Linked DNA regions of Homo sapiens: regions 2, 3 and 4 are each linked to region 1. Evidence: promoter capture Hi-C in human tissues and cell types (Jung and others, 2019). All regions are on one chromosome and are shown on one strand. The core of a region is centred on a gene start or on the middle of the fragment in contact, and the rest is flanking DNA. Distances in the headings are between cores, read along the strand shown. Region 1 holds the start of OR2F1 (olfactory receptor family 2 subfamily F member 1). Region 2 has its middle 15 kb from the start of OR6B1. Region 3 has its middle 12 kb from the start of TCAF1. Region 4 has its middle 6.4 kb from the start of OR6B1.

What was found. The method cuts DNA at HindIII sites, captures the fragments that hold promoters and counts their contacts. A contact is called where the count stands out against the background at its distance.
Region 2: a contact is called between a fragment that was not itself captured here and the fragment with the promoter of OR2F1 in region 1, in 1 of the 25 tissues and cell types used here (liver).
Region 3: a fragment that was not itself captured here is called in contact with the fragment with the promoter of OR2F1 in region 1 in 5 of the 25 tissues and cell types used here (adrenal gland, aorta, hippocampus and 2 more).
Region 4: a contact is called between a fragment that was not itself captured here and the fragment with the promoter of OR2F1 in region 1, in 1 of the 25 tissues and cell types used here (hippocampus).

Annotation. Positions count from the first base shown.
Region 1 is chr7:143,953,096-143,957,513 of GRCh38, forward strand. It overlaps OR2F1 (olfactory receptor family 2 subfamily F member 1), which reads left to right and starts at 1,749. Exons shown (of 3, transcript NM_012369.3): 1 at 1,749-2,008. The HindIII fragment of the contact is 7,987 bases long and covers 59-4,418 here.
Region 2 is chr7:144,013,568-144,017,985 of GRCh38, forward strand. No RefSeq gene overlaps it. Among named protein-coding and RNA genes, the nearest start is that of OR6B1, 15 kb to the left of the region's middle. The HindIII fragment of the contact is 3,640 bases long and covers 467-4,106 here.
Region 3 is chr7:143,912,037-143,916,454 of GRCh38, forward strand. No RefSeq gene overlaps it. Among named protein-coding and RNA genes, the nearest start is that of TCAF1, 12 kb to the left of the region's middle. The HindIII fragment of the contact is 8,681 bases long and covers 1-4,418 here.
Region 4 is chr7:143,991,707-143,996,124 of GRCh38, forward strand. No RefSeq gene overlaps it. Among named protein-coding and RNA genes, the nearest start is that of OR6B1, 6.4 kb to the right of the region's middle. The HindIII fragment of the contact is 6,072 bases long and covers 1-4,418 here.

The sequences.
Region 1 (4,418 bases), core at 499-2,998:
CTTCTGCCCATGATGGATGCATTCAGCGTATACAACCAAGTGCTCAACCGCAGGTCAGATGCACCTTCCTCTAAATGAAATGAACATTTCTAATGACAGCCCAAGTCTGTAAAGGAAGGTGTCTGGTTTATTTAGAGCAGCATGAAAGAAAAACGTATGTTTTTTTGTGGGACTTAACCTTCATGTGCTCTGTTGAATACAGAGTATTCAGAGCTCTATTTGCCTCAGCTAAGATTGTAGAGGACTCCAATAAGAAGGGCAAATAGGATTAAAACTCAGTGGAGTATTAGAATCATGGTGTACTCATTTTCTGGAGAGAAAGTTTTTGGCTTTTTAGTCCTTAGCTTTAGGGAATTATCACTATAATGAATAAGAGAATATTGGTAATATGCCCCGAAGCCTCAGTATGTCTCAGAATAAATTTACAAGGCTCTTACAAGGTTTTATTTAACCATGCACTCTTTGAATTGATGTAAATATTGGAAAGGATTATATTCAGAAATATATTTTTGGAATGTGAGACATTGAGGAATGCTTTTCTGGCGTGCATACCTCCTGAGTCTTTCCAAGTCAACACTTCCCTCTTCCTAATATGGAGGAAAAGGGAGAAGTTAATGTCTTAAGCCAGCCAGTCAATAGAGGTAGAAAATTATGTTAGATACTTTAAAATGTATAATACACTGACTGGGGTAGGATAGCAAATCATGGAACTCAATGTTGCGAATGGAAAATATACCTAGGTGTCAAGCCCTGGACATTTGATTCCTTGCAAGAATAAATTGAATATATTTCAGTCTTGGTCCACAGAGTAGCAATGGAATTTAAATGCAATTAAAAATAATAAAACAAAAATGTGAACAGCAGCACGTGAAGACATTTCCAGAGCCCCACAAATTATGATCCTGTCTGCGTGGCACCAACACAGTGATAAGTTCTGTCAATGCCTGATTGATCTTTAACTATGGGTCTGGCTTCTCATCTTTTACTTGATGAACAGTGGCTCATGGTTCCTCCAACGTCTTCTCATTTCATTAAAGCAGCAATAGGGGGAGGATGTGGCAAAAGGCTGAAAAGGAACTTTAGGGGAGAAGTCATTGTTGCTTGGGGCTGTACCCTTTCTTCTCAGCATTCTGCAGAGCTGTAGGGAGCTGAGCATGGATGGCACCCCCATCTCGGAGATCAACTCTTCAGGGTTAAATAAAATTCTAACAGACTAGTTGGCGGAATGATTGCATAATTTCAAAATACCAGATGTTTACAACAAATATTAACATATATCACTGCCTAAGAATTTACTATGAGTAAGATATTTAACTTCACTTAAGATCTTGCCTTTCCCTGTGTTCTTTTTAAGAAGGGGAGAGGAAAAGGCAATTTTAGAACAGGGGCCACATCTGCTGGAAGGCAGGCCTGAATATAGAGAGCTACAGAGACTTGCATGGAGCTTTTTGGCTCATAGATAAGGGGTTAGAATATAAATTCAGAGAAAGGAAGGCAGGAACGTCTATATAGCCCAATTTTATCTACCCCATCCAGATAAAGGCTAGTCCAGGTTTGAACATCTGCTAACATGGTTCTGTGAATTTTTCACTCTTCATCTTCTTCAGGTGACATATATTTTCAGTCAAAGATATTATAAGATGGTAGTCGATTGAAACAATAAGAAAAAGAGTAATGGGTGAATTTACCGAGATAGGATAGGTTGAAAAAGAACATTTAATTTGTTGCAATTTAGATTTAATTTTTATAATAAAGAAAATAGATTCCATGGAATCAATGAATTGATTTGCTTTACTAAAGAGAGATCTTGACTGATTGAAATTTAACTGTTAAATTAGAGTTTTTTTGTTATGTAAAATGAACTGTGTGAGGAATCTAAACACTTATTTTTTTGTTCTTTCTTTGTCGTTGATAGAAGAATATTTCAGTCCTGATATTTGCTGTAACTAATAATTACTGGATAAACAGAGAAGACACATGGAGGATATTTTACCTGGGTCCAACAAAAGTAATTTTGTTTTATTTATTTGTTTGACAAATAAAAATTGTATATATTTATGGCATAGATTTTAAGAAATCTTGTTACAAAAATAATATGTATGTGATGTGATGCATATATTAATTAGCTTAACTTAGCCATTCCAATAAAGGTAATATTTATCTAGAAAATTTTGAGCTTTGCTATTCATACCTCTTCTCTGATTTTTTTCCTGTAATTTTCAGGTTATTTACATCTAAAACTCCAGCTTTTACTATTATGTGATGTAAAGGATCAGTGTAAGCTGTTATACCAGTTGATAATGTTTAGGTACTTTATATTATAAAAGTTTCATTTAGCATTATTGCATTTTTAAACATTTCACAAAAAAGGACAATGTGCAACATAAATGTAATACATTTCAGGAATTAGAGACAGGGCTTTAAAAAAGATAATCATTCACAGAATATTTCAATAGCACCTGTCTTACTATATCACACATTGTTTTCTATTTCTTATGGTCACAGTGATTATCCTACATTCACCCCAATTCATAAAACACAGGAAGCAGTAATTCCTTTTTTCATTGTGATCCTGTTTATGGAGGTGAACCACAGGGTATGCCATTTTTCAGTACTGTGTTCTGAGCAGGCAGCGTGAATTGGTTATTTTCAATGGTCAAAAGAAAGCTCAGAACACATATAGAAAAAATTGATTTGATGTTTGTTGAGTATGAAGATGATATAACTCTAAGAATGTAAAATAGAATTTTATTGCTTACTAAAGCAACATTAGATGCCTGGCAAAAAGGTAATGTTGTTGGTGTTGGACAAGTACTGTGAAGAGCACAAAAGTCACACTTGTACACCACAAAGAGCTAAATAGGACTATTAGCTGTGTTCATTGTCCAATACTGGTTTTGTAACTTGGCTGCATGCTTGTATTAAGAGGTTTTGGTAGTTGTGTTTGTACAGACAAATTGAAGAAATATTCTCACATTTTTTCCTTAGTTAGTTGACCTCAATGAATGTCACCGGTGTAGGGAAAGTATAGATTCCACAGATTAGAGCAGTAAAGATCAAGCTCTGGCTTCCTATAGAAGTGGTTGGATATGAAGCATGTTACCTGACACCTAGTCCATTCACCTTGATATAAGAATAGAAAGCCAGTTATATTTAGCTGGAAGGTGAGCCCAGAATAATATGGAGATGGTTTTAACTGAAGGTGCATTAAAATCATCTGGCTCATACATATTTCCTCCTTCAACTGGCTTTCCAAATGCAGATGATATTTACATTTTCTTTGTCTAACATCAGTCCATAAACATTCGAAACAAGATATATTTTTTGAATATTAATTATTTTGAAACCCACAATAGCCATGGAAAAACACAGCATACTTGATGGGTTAACATATCAGTGAAAGATATTTAAGTATTAGCAGCCTATTTTAATAAAAGACTGCTGGAAAACACAAGGCATGATAATAAATGCTATAGTTAATAAAATAAAGTTAGTCATAGAAGAAGAGCAGATTATGGATTGGATGAAAAGTATTCTGCCCAGGATAAACTTAAATCTTTACACACTTAGACATTATAGATCTTTTTGTGCTTAAAAAGGACATAAAAATTTGTATTTTATATAATTAACTTGGAGGTTAGAGTGTAGGATTTTGGGAGTGAATGGAAGTTACATTAGGGAAATTTACAAGTAAGGTCTGGCAACTCTAGCAGATGGGAATAAAGAGGGAAAAGGTAAGTGTGGCTGAGAGTAAGGAGGAGATGGGGGAGATATATAATAAAGGAAGAGAATGTATTCTGTGGCATACAGAAGAAGAGGGAAAAATAAAAGATGATTCATTGAGAGAGTAGGAGAAATCTAATTCTGCCGATAGTAAAAAAGAACTCAGGAGGGAATTTCATTCGTGGATAGAGGAGTACAGGCATTGGTGAGATATTTAGGAAACATTCATTCAGCTTTTCTGGAATACACTTGGAGCTTTGAAGAGAAATCTAGAAGGTAAATGTAAAATTGAGAGTGAGCCATATAGAGTTGATAGTAATTATTATAGCTAGAAATAAAAAGACTTCCAAGAAAAACTGTAGAAGTTGAGTACAAGTTCTGAGCACAGAACTTTAGCAAATGCTCATACAGCAGAGCAGGAGAAGGAGGAAGGTTAAGAATGGTGACAAGGCAAATTCGATTGGAGGAAAATCAGGACAGAAGTCCATGACAGAGTTGAGAGTTTGAAGGAACAAATAGGTAACATTGTTAAAAGCTAAGTAAAGAATGCAAATAGAATAAAAATATCTCTGGAACTGATGATGGCAGGTTATCAGTAACCTTTAAGTTTTCAAATTCTAAAGATTAGTGAGGGTAGAAATGTTTACAGTCTCAGGAATAAATATTAGGAAATAAATCCAGACAATGGATTCCAA
Region 2 (4,418 bases), core at 1,037-3,536, 61 kb after region 1:
ATCCTTTGCAGGGACGTGGATGAAGCTGGAAGCCATCATCCTTACCAAACTAACACAGGAACAGAAAACCAAACACTGCATGTTCTCACTCATAAGTGGGAGTTGAACAAGGAGAATACATGGGCACAGGGAGGGGAACATCACACACCAGGGCCTGTCGGGGATGGGGAGGGGAAGGGAGAGCATCAGGATAAATAGCTAAGGCATGTGGGGCTTAATACCTAGGTGATGGGTTGATAGGTGCAGCAAACCACCATGTAACACATCTACCTACGTAACAAACCTGCATGCTCTGCACATGTATCCCAAAACTTAAAATAAAATTTTAAAAAAGAGAAAATACTATAATTTATTTATCCTTCTCACTCTTTTTGTATAGTGTCCAGTTTGGGACCATCAGGAATAGCATTGCATGGATATTCTAGTACATATCTTTGCTGAACCTATAGATGTATTTCTGTTGGGCATATAACTAAGACTGGAATGCTAAATCACAGGATATGAATATGCCCAGCCTGATAACATATTGTGAAATAGTTTTTCAAAGTGGGCTGTACCAATTTACACTCCCATCAGCACTGTATGAGCAGTTGAGAAGGTAGTTTTAAATGATTAAAACTTCTAAATTAAGTGGAAACATTCTATTATAAAGAGACATGCATGCATATGTTCAGTGCAGCACTATTCGCAATAGCAAAGACAGGCAATCAATCTAAATGCCCATCAATGATAGGCTGGATAAAGAAAATGTTGTATATATACACCATGGAATACTATTTAGCCATAGAAAGAATGAGATCATGTCCTTTGTGGGAACATAGATGGAGCTGGAGGCCATTATCCTTAGCAAGGTAACACAAGAACAGAAAACCAACTACCACATGTTCTCATTTATAAGTGGGAGTTAAATGATAAGAACACATGAATGCATAGAGGGGAATAACACACACTGGGGCCTATCAGAGGGTGGAGGGTGGGAGAAGGAAGAGGATCAGGAAAAACAACTAATGGGTACCAGGCTTAATACGTGGGTGATGAAATAATCTCCACAACAAACCTCCATAACACAAGTTTACCTATGTAACAAACCTGAATTTGTATTCCTGAACTTAAAATAAAAGTTAAAAAAATCAAATGAAAAGTTTTTTTCCAAATGGAAAAAAATTCCATGCTCATGGATAGGAAGAATCAATATTGTGAAAATGGCCATACTGCCCAAAGTAATTTATAGATTCAAAGCTATTCTCATCAAGCTACCATTGACTTTTTTCACAGAATTAGAAAAAACTGCTTTAAATTTCATATGGAACCAAAAAAGAGCCTGTATAGCCAAGACAATCCTAAGCAAAAAAACAAAGCTGGAGGCATCACACTACCTGACTTCAAACTATACTGCAAGTCTACAGTAACCAAAACAGCATGGTACTGGTACCAAAACAGATATACAGACAAATGGAACAGAACAGAGACCTCATAAATAACACCTACACATCTACAACCATCTGAACTTCAACAAACCTGAAAAAAGCAAGCAATGGGGAAAGGACTCTCTATTTCATAAATGGTGCTGGGAAAACTGGCTAGCCATATGCAGAAAAGTGAAACTGGATGCCTTTCTTACACCTTATACCAAAATTATCTCAAGATGGATTAAAGGCTTACATGTAAGACCTAAAACCATAAAAACCCTAGCATAAAACCTAGGCAATACCATTCAGGACATAGGCATGGGCAAAGACTTCATGACTAAAACACTGAAAGCAATTGCAACAAAAGCCAAAGCAGACAAATGGGATCCAATTAAACTAAAGAGCTTCTGCACAGCAAAAGAAACTATCAGCAGAGTGAACAGGCAACCTACAGAATGGAAGAAAACTTTTGCAATCTATCCATCTGACAAAGGGCTAATATCCAGAATCTACAAGGAACATAAACAAATTTACAAGAAAAAAAAAACCCCATCAAAAAGTGGGCAAATGATATGAACAGACACTTCTCAAAATAAGACATTTATGGAGCCAACAGACATATGAAAAAAAGCTTATCAACACTGGTCATTAGAGAAATGCAAATCAAAACCACAATGAGATACCATCTCACGCCAGTTAGAATGGTGATCACTAAAACGTCAGGAAACAACAGATGCTGGCGAGGATGTGGAGACATAGGAACACTTTTACACTGTTGGTGGGAGTGTAAATTAGTTCAACCCTTGTGAAAGACAGTGTGGCGATTCCTCAAGGATCTAGAACTAGAAATACCATTGACCCAGCAATCCCATTACTGGGTATATATCGAAAGGATTATAAATCATTCTACTATAAAGACACATGCAAACATATGTTTATTACAGCACTATTTACAATAGCAAAGCCTTGGAACCAACCCAAATGCCCATCAATGATAGGCTTGATAAAGAAAATGTGGCACATATATACCATGGAATACTATGCAGCCATAAAAAAGAATGAGTTCTTGTCCTTTGCAGGGATGTGGATGAAGCTGGAAACCATCATTCTCAGCAAACTAACACAGGAACAGAAAACCAAACACCACATGCTCTCACTTATAAATGGAAGTTGAACATTGAGAACACATGGACACAGGGAGGGGAACATCACATACCTGTGCCTGCCAGGGGGTGGGGGTGCAAGGGGAGGGAGAGCATTAGGACAAATACCTAATGCATGCGGGGCCTAAAACCTAGATGATGGGTTGATGGGTGCAGCAAACCACCATGGCACATGTATACCTATGTAACAAACCTGCATGTTCTGCACATGTATCCCAGAACTTAAAGTATAATTTAAAAAAAAGAAAGAAAAGTTTATTTTCATAATGAGAAATTCATATCACATTAAAATATAATAATATAATAAAATATTTTAAAAGTAATTATAATGTAGATACTTTATATTTACACATGAATACAAACAACTGGGACTAAGAGTTATTATTATAATCTTATTTTTATGTTTATTTAGGAAGTTACAGGATAGTTACCTCTGTACCCATTAGGAAGAAAAATTGGGGGATATAAATAAATACCTTTATGCTTGAGTTTGGAAACCACTTGGAAGAAGTTGTAACATCCAAGGATTGTGAATATTCAAACACAGTATATCTAGTCTAATCTATCTAAAATTACAACTCTGGAAATTTAGATTGCAAATAATACCCAATTAACACTCCTGAAAAAGCCTCTCACACATAGAAAGACAAAAATTTACAGGTATATTGATAATTAGCTATATAAAGGAGCTCTTAACATTTAGTTTGTGCTTGTCTCGCAAACTGGGAAAAGAGAGCTGATGAGAATCCTCAGCACAGTCAGTACAACAAACTTAAGATGAGCAACACGGTCAATGGCTGTGATGCTGCTCTAAGAAAAGACATAGAACTTTCCATGTGTCCTTGCTGCCCCAAATATGTAGAGATATGTTCATTTCCAATAATGTTTTACACTCTAAGAAAATCAGAAGCAGTTGGGCCAATGAAAAGTAACTTCCTACCTCTGGTGACAGTGACAGCATGGCACGTGGGGTTATTATAGGTATAAGTAAGCTGAGCCCTGGTCACAGGAAGGGAAGCTGTGAGAACTATCCTGCTTGCCCAGATAATGTTTTGAGTTCCAACACTTGAATAGACATCTAAAGTCAGGGCCAAGAATGGTTAAAACACAGCCAAGAGGCTGGGTGCGGTGGCTCACGCCTGCAATCCCAGCACTTTGGGAGGCCAAGGCGGGCGGTCAGGAGTTCGGGACCAGCCTGACCAAAGTGGTGAAACCCCGTCGCTACTAAAAACACAAAAAAATTAGCCAGGTGTGGTGGCGGGTGCCTATGGTCCCAGCTACTCAGGAGGCTGAGGCAGGAGAATCACTTGAATCCGGGTGGCAGAGGTTGCAGTGAGCCGAGATCACGCCATTGCACTCCAGCCTGGGTGACAGAGCGATACTCCGTCTCAAAAAACAAACAAACAAACAAACAAACAAACAAAAACATAGCCAAGAGAGCTGTTATTTATTCTCTCTAATCACCTGTACCCTGAGAGTATGAGCAGACTGCATCCTTCCTAGGAACCAAGAGTGGGAAATTGGGGACTGCTTTCCTATTTTGTCCACTATAACTTAATTAACTGTTTTTTTTTTTCTTAAATAGATCCCTATGTTAACAATCTACTACCTTGTATATAGTGGGTTTCTCTAACCAGATCCCTCTAATCTGGGAATGATCACCAGACCGAAGCCCAAGACTGGCACTGCCTAATGCCATAGTCTGGGCTGAATGAAACAATTATAAGGAAGGAAACTGGTCCTGTTAAAACTTATTTTGATTTGATTTCATGAAAGAAAAGATCTGGAAAAAGATAGGAAGATGCTTTGAACCTCTGTATTGAATCTTGGCAAATTTCACCTTAGT
Region 3 (4,418 bases), core at 1,351-3,850, 40 kb before region 1:
CACTGTTCTGGATACTAGGAATGCATCACTAAGCAAGTAAAAGTCTCTGCTCTATTGAGAAGAGACAAAAAATAAGCAATTCCAAAAACTGAACATATAATATAATAGGTATTAGATGATGAGTTCTATAGATAAAAATACATTTTTGAAATTGGTATTATTTCTTGACAAGCTTATAGATTTAGGCACTAGGCTAAGAATTCAACATGCATAGCTGTTTTGTTTTTCTTCGCAGAAATCTGATGAGGGAGGTATATTTTCTGCCTTTTGCTTATGAACAAAATAAGGTGTATAAAGATTAAATGATTTAATCTGAAATCACAAGGCTGCAAGATGAATAAGTAACATACGCAAGTTTATAATGTGTTTTTTAAAACATCCTGGCATAAGCTTTCTTTCATGTTATTAACAGCTCTTTTAAAATGTTATTTAAATTTCTATGTAATATTTTTTGGTGGATATCCAAGACATGAGCTATGCTAGGCAATGTTTTACAAAGCAATTCCTGTCTTGTGGATTATAGTAGCGCCTGTAGTGCTGTTTTGTATGTTCCACAGTTACCAGCCTTTCATTTATTCAGGATAGGGCACATGGAATTAGTGCTTGCCAATGGGCTGTGAGTAAAATTACGTGGTTCGCTTCCGGTCAGAAGCAATTAAGGTATGAGTTTGTCATATTCTCTTCCCCTGCCACAGTGCCTGTAAAAGCCATATATTGAGATAGCAGAATTTCACGATGGAGCAAGTATGGATCTCTGATCAGTGGATGAAAGAATGCCCCTTGGCTTGCATTTTTGTGTAAAGAAGAAAGAAACTTCTGTGTGCAAAGCCATCGTGTTGTTTATTTTCACAGTAGTAGCCTTGAGTTCAGTTTTTGGACTCTTACATATAATATTGCCTTGAAAAATCATTCCGGATTAAATATTTCTTATGTTTGAGATTTTCTTGCTATATGACTAGAAGTGGAACTAATGGCTCAAAGCTTCTGAGGCTTACTTCCAAGTTGTTTTCCAAAGTGTTGTTTCTATTAAAAATGCATTGAGTGTCATTTCTCACTAAACTATCAAGATCATTAATTACTAAGATCGAGATAATATATTCAAGCACATGAAAGAGACAAAGAAATATCATTGTTGATTTGATTCATACTCATTTCATTATCAGTGAAGTTGACCTTGTTTTCATGCATTTATTTTTTTAATAGCTTTATTTAGGTGTAACTGACCTACAATAAACAGCACATATTAACAGTGTAAAACTTGATAAGTTTTGATATCTGTATATGCCAGTGGAAACATTACTACAATCAAGAAAATGAACATTTGGAGATGATCTCCAAGACTTTCCCTATGCTCATTTACAATCCCTCTCTTCTACTCATCTCTGACTTAAAAGATGTGGCTCCTCTATCTTTGGCTTGCGTTGTTTATGATAAGTCAGCTTTCATCATTATTTTTGTAGTTTTGTATGTATATTTTTTCCCTCTGACGATTTTTAAGGTTTTCTCTTTATTACTCATTTTAAGCAATTTATTATATGTCTTAGTATAGTTTTATGTGTGTGTGTGTGTGTGTGTGTTTGGGGATCACCAAGGTTCTTTGAACTTTGGATTTATAGTTTTCGTCCAATTTGGTAATTGAGGGGGAATTCTTTCTCCAAATATTTTTCCAATTACATGTAAACTAGGTAGATTAAGTTTCTCATATTTTATATATGCTCAGTTAGATTTTTGCTCTTTTTTCTCTTTGTATTTCATTTTGAATAGTTCCTATTGCTGTGTCACCAACTTAACTAATTTTTTTTTTACAGTGCATAATCCTGCTGTTAATTCCATCCAGTTGTGTTTTTCTCTTAGGAACCGTATTTTTCATGTCTAGAAGTTAGTTTTGGTTCTTTAAAAATATTTTCCATGACTTTAATCTTTTAAACATATGATTGCAGTTATAATAATTGCTTTGATGTTTTTGAGTGCTAGTTCAAATGCCTGTGCTAGATTTGGGTCTTCTTTTAATCTTAATTTTTTTTTAGAGGTGGAATCTCACTATGTTGCTCAGGCTGGAGTGCTGTGGCTACTTCACAGGTGAGATCATACCACACTACATCCTCAAACTCCTGGGCTCAAACAACCCTCTCACTTCAGCCTACCAAGTGGGTCTTTCTTGACTGATAGTTTCCTTCTTAAAATTGGTCATATTTTCCTGCTCCTTTGTATACATGGTTGATAGTCATTGTGAGTTTTTGTCATTTTGCGTGCTGGATATTTTTGTATTCCTCTAAATATTCATGAACTTTGTTCTGGCATTCAGTTAAATTACCTGGAATTAGTTTGATCCTTTTGGGTCTTGCTTTTCGAATTTGTTAGGTAGGACCAGAGCAGCATTTACCCTAGGGTTAATTATTCACCACTGCTGAGGGAAGAAGCTCTAAGTACTCTATGCAAAGGGTTATAAATTATCAGGGTTTTTTTTTTTTTTCTGGTCTGATTGATGGGAATAAGCATTGGTACTGGCCCATTGTAGCGCTGGGTTTTGTTCCTTTTAACCCTTGAAGGTAGTTATTTTCTGGTCTCAAGTATTTTATAATGGTGTATAACAGCCAAAACTCTCTTGAAAAAGAATTACAAATTCAGAGGATTTGCACTATTTGCATCTAAGCCTTACTATAAGGCTACAGTAATTAAGAAAGTGTGGTGTTTTTAAAAGATCATGATGAAACCCCGTCTCCACCAGAAATTCAAAAATTAGCCGAGTGTTGTGGCGGTGGCCTTTACCGAGTTTCCATATATCATCATCATCATTATCATCATCATCCAGTATTTATAGTTGCAAGCAACAGATGAAAACTTTGGCTAGTTTTAGCAGAAAACACATTTATTAAGGAGTATTAATAGCTCACGTAATCTCTGAGAATAATGCTTGGAGTTGACTACCGTCAAGAAAAACATTTAAAAAATCATTCTACAGAAGTGATTCTATGAAGGCATTGATGCAGTTTTTTTGGGGGGGAGGCACAGACAGGGTAGTGTGTGCTGCTGATACCCATGGTACACCGGATAATCCTAGAATTGTTAACACTAGTTATTCAGGAAACTGGACTTGCTACTGCCTCTAGTGTCAGTCTCACCACATTTAATTCTGGGCAGTTCCTCCCTTTTTGTATCACTAGTCCTTGACTGGCACAAAAACACCTGAGTAATAGAGACCGGGTCACAAACCTGTGCCCCTACTGCAGAAGATGCTGAGAATATTTTAGCCTCTCCTAAGAGAGGATACCCCAAGCATCAAAGGAAGAAGACGCTGGACAGAAAAACAACATCATGACAGATGTTTACATTTCACATCTTTGGCTCCTCCAACATACATACACTTCTTTCTTCTCATGTTAACAATGCCTCCCACTTAAAACGTTCTCATCTGACACTGTGCACAGTTGGAACACACTAGCCGTCTTCTCAGATGATGTCAGAGTTTCACCCATCTCCGAGACTGGATGTTTTCAACAAATACCAGGCCTCCTCTGGAATGTCAAAATCCTGCCTTGATATTCTATAACCTGTGGACCAATCTGAAAAATGTGCTGCTATGAACAAACCCAAATAAAATAGTAAGGGACAGGAGATGAATGAAGAATTAATAAAACATACCAATATACATGTGACACATCAAGGAGAAAAATTTGTGAAGACGCTATATCCTCATTTCTGTGACTGGCCACGTGGTCACAGTGTTTGTGACTTTTCTGCTCCACCCATTCCATAATCCCTTTGCCCTCACCCAGCTCCTTAGCTTGTTTGGATTATTCACCCAAGGGGTTATCCGAATCTTCATTCTGAAGAAGGAATGTTAGAGTGGGCATTAAGTATGTGGAAACTGAATATCATGTACCTCACAGTCAATCTATTAGACTTCTATTTTTCTCTTTTTTATTTAATAGCCTTGTTTTTTTTTTAATTCTTTTTAATTTTTGAGATGGAGTCTTGCTCTGTCACCTAGGCTGGAGCGCAGTGGCACAATCTCGGCACACTGCAACCTCTGCCTCCCAGGTTCAAGCAATTCTCCTGCCTCAGCCTCCCGAGTAGCTGGGATTACAGGCAGCCACCACCACACCTGGCTGATTTTTTGGTATTTTTAGTAGACACGGGATTTCACCATCTTGGCCAGGCTGGTCTTCAACTCTTGACCTCGTGATCCATTCGCCTCGGCCTTTCAAAGTGCTGGGATTACAGGCATGAGCCATGGCGCCCAGCCCAGCCTTAAGTTTTTAGGATAGCATTTTACCAGCCAGTGCTAATAAATTAAATTCCTGTGGGCCAGCTTGAGACTACAGGCACTCCTACTTAGTAGTTGCTTATGAAAGATATTTGGACATATAGGAGGAAGGAAGGAGCTATTGATACAAGGGCAAAATAAGATGAAATTC
Region 4 (4,418 bases), core at 497-2,996, 39 kb after region 1:
AGGGGTGAGCCGACGCGCTCAACCACAATTTTTCTTTTTAAAGTATTCAGAGAAAGAAATAAAATTATCTTTAAAGAACCAAGATAGAAGCAAAATGTTTTCTTCCCTGAAGGAGGATGGGAAATCTCTCAGCTCCTACCATAAGCCTTGCAAACAAAATCAACATTTGTTTACCTCTGGAGAAAGGTCAGAAAGCCTTCTTGCCACTTGTCCAGACAAAAGTGAGTTGCTACTGAGGGAAAAGTAGAAGTAAAAGCAGTTTGCTCTTAGGGAAGAGGTAGAAATCCATTCAAGCTAGGATCCTGCCCTGCTACTAGGAGTCCACTAGGATAAGGGCAGAAACTCCCACCCATGACCAGTCACAAATAAAAAGTAGAGTCTGGCTGCCATGACTGGTGAGATGAGGTAGGAACACCACTTCCCAAGTCTCAGGTTTATAGGGGCTGACTAGGATGGAGGCTGGATCAGGGAAAACAAGGATATCTTTGCCCCTGTCACAAGCCTTGCACCAAGAAAAAATCAACAGCACCTATTTCCGGGAAAGAAGCCAAAGTATGGAGATACCTTGTATTACAAAGGCAATGCTACGCTTGGTAAAATTTGGGTAGAGCAGGAACACTGATTAAAATCTCCTATTTAGGTTCAACAAAGCATCATTCTTCATGGTCAGAAGAATTTGAAATCTGTGGAGCACTGCAAGTAATTATAGTAACAATACCCAAAACACCTCAACCACTTACACACATAGTCTGACAGAAGGACCAGCACCCCATTTTTAAGTATAAATACTCTATAGCCTAGTCTCTACTGTTCTTTTACCAACAATTTCCAGCATTTAATAAAAATTATATTTCAAAAGCAGCAAGAAAATACTTACTCATTGTTAAGTGAAAGCATTCAAAAGAATCAGAACCAGGAATGATCTAGACTGGATCTATCTATCAAACAGGAATTTTACCCTAACTATAATTAGGATATAGCAGAAAACATAAGCAATGTGCATGAGAACATGAGAAATTTTAGTAGAGCAATAAAACTGTTTCTTAAAGTAAAATAGAAATGCTAGAAACAAAAAAAAACAACATAAAAATAGATTATTTCTTTGATGGAGTTAAGACTATCACACAGGGAAGAGTCAGTGAACATGAGGTTATGGAAACAGAAATTATCCCAACTGGAATAAAAAGAGAAGAGTGAGTGGATAAAAATAGAACAAGCTGTACAACAACATAAAACAATCTAACAGATGTTTAATTTGAGTCTAAGAAGAAGACAGAGTAACAAGGCAAATGAAATATTTTCAGATATCATGGCTAAAAGTTTTGCAAAATCAATGAAATAAATCCCAGATTCAAGAAGCTCAGAGAATCCTAAGCAGGATAGAGAAAAAAATCATATTCAAATTGCCAAAACTCAGATACCAAAATAAAATCTTGAAGATGTGTATAGAAAAAGAAATATTATACACACATACAAAGATAAAATTACAACCCATTTATCATCAGAAATGAGGCACAGCATAAGACAAAGGAGGGCACCTTTAAAATGCTGACAAGAAAAAAACTCTCATCTAGAAATCTATACACAGTGAGAATTTCTTTCAAATATAAGCATGGAATACTTTTTCAGATAAACAAAACTGACGTACTTTATCACATGTGAGTACACTGCAAGAAATATTAAATAAAGTTCTTCAGGAAGAAGAAATGTGATACCAAATGGAAATTTGAACCTACAAAAGAAATGAAGAGTGCCAGAGATGGCAAAAATAATGAAGGCAAAAAAGATTTATTTTTATTAATTGTAAATAAGAACTGACTGAATAAAGTAAAAGTAGTAACTGTATTGTGGAGTAAAAGTAAATGTATTGTGAAGTTTATAACACACTTAGAAATAAATGCCAACAACCATAGCACAAAGATGAGAGGGAAAAAAATGGAAGTGAACCGTTGTAATATTTTTACATGTTTTGTAAAGGACTATAATATTATTTAAAATTGGACTATGATAGACTAAATATTTATGTTTTAGGCTGGGCACGGTGGCCCGCGCCTGTAATCCCAGAACTTTGGGAGTCCGAGGTGGGTGGATCACCTGCAGTCAGGAGTTCGAGACCAGCCTGGCCAACATGGCGAAACCCTGTCTCTACTAAAAATATAAAAATTAGCTTGGCATGGTGGTGGGCACCTGTAATCCCAGCTAATCAGGAGGCTGAGGCAGAAGAACTGCTGGAACTTGGGAGGCGGAGGTTGCAGTGAGCTGAGATCACGCCATTGCACTCCTGCTTGGGTGACAAGACCAAAACTGCGTTTCAAAAAAAATAAATAAAAATAAAAATAAGTTATGTTTTAAAATTTAGAGCAACTAGTAAACACATTTAAACAAAGGTATAACTAATAAGCCAATATTAGGTATAAGATGAAATTATTAAAATTAATTAATAAAAAGGCAAAAGTGTAGAAAAAGAAAACAAAAGCAAAAGCAACAACAACAAAAAAAACAAATAGCAAAATGGTACACCTAAATACACCTTCATCCTCTAATAGCAGTAAAGGTAAATAATCTAAAACACAATGATTAAAAAGCAGAGAACAACATATAGAATTGAATAGAAAGACCCAACTGTGTGCTCTCTACAATCAATGAACTCATTTTTAATATAAAATAATAAATTGATTAAATGTAAAAAGATAGTGAAGATCTACCATGCAACACTATGTCAGAAAGCTGGAGTGACTATAATAATTTCTAATAAATTCCCATAAGAAGGTATATTACCAGAATTAACATAGGATATTGTATAATAAGGGAGTTGATTTTTCAAGACAATATAATAATTTTAACAATTTAATAATAGCACTAAAAATACAGAAAGAATAGACAAACCCATCATTATTAGTGAAGATGTTAACATAATTTTCTCAGTATTTGATAGATCAAGTAAACGATAAGAAAGTCAGCAAATATGGACGACCTGAACAACACCATCAACTAGATTAACCTAATTGACATTTTTATAAAATTCTACTCAGCAATAGAAGACTACAAATGTCAACATATTTGAAATTGAAATTATACAAATATTTTCTTTTAACATAATGATATTAAATTAGAAATAAGGAAGTGATATTAAATAAGAAATAAGGAATAAACCAAAACCTCTGGAAAAATCCCCAAATGTATGAAAATTAAACTCTATACTTCTAACTAATCAATAAGTCAAGGAAATCACAAAGAAAATTAGAAAACATATTTCAAATTGAACAAAAAACAGAGCCTAGAGAAAAATGTGAAGCACTAAACGCTTTTGTTAGAAGTGTCTCAAATCAATGACTCAGAGTTTTACCTTATGAAACTAGACTGAAAAGATAAAACTAAAGACAGAAGATGCAGAAGAAACAAAATAAAATATAAAATGATGCAGAAAAACAGAAAAATAGTAGAGAAGTTCAATGAAATCAAAAGCAAGCTTTGAAAAGATCAATAACGTTGAAAAATCCGTAGTCAGACTGATCAAAACAAAGAGAGAAAACACAAATAAAGACACATACAATTAAAGAGAACACATCTCTACAGATCCTGCAGACATTAGAAACAACACTAAGGTAATAGTTTAATAGCTTTATACCAAAAATTCAAAGAACTTGAGTGAAATAGTTAAATTCCTGAAAAATCAAAAGCTGCCAAAGCCCACATAAGAGAAAATAGGTAGCCTGACTCCCTATCTATGAAGGCAATTGATTTTTTTTTTTTTTTTTGAGACGGAGTCTCGTTCTGTCGCCCAGGCGGGAGTGCTGTGGCGCGATCTCCGCTCACTGCAAGCTCCGCCTTCCGGGTTCACGCCATTCTCCTGCCTCAGCCTCCCGAGTAGCTGGGACTACAGGCGCCCGCCACTGCGCCCGGCTAATTTTTTGTATTTTTAGTAGAGACGGGGTTTCACCGTGGTCTCGATCTCCTGACCTCGTGATCCGCCCGCCTCGGCCTCCCAAAGTGCTGGGATTACAGGCGTGAGCCACCGCGCCCGGCCGGCAATTGATTTTATGGTTAAAAATCTTCCTTGTGGAAAAATCCAGGTCCAGATGCCTCCACTAATGAATTCTACCACATATAAAAAGATAATATAGTGCTACTTCTACACAAGTCTTTCAGAAAATAGAAAAGAATACTGACTATTATTTTATGAACCCAGATTTACCTGATAACAAAACCAAATATATAAGAAAAGAGGCTGGCCACAGCGGCTCACACCTGTAATCCCAACATTTTGTGAGACCAAAGTAGGCAGATGCTTGAGCCCAGGAGTTCAAGACCAGCCTGGGCAACATGGCAAACCCCATCTCTACAAAAATACAAAAAAGTTAGCCAAGTGTGGTGGGGTGCACCTGTAGTTTCAGCTACTCAGGAGGCTGAGATGGGGG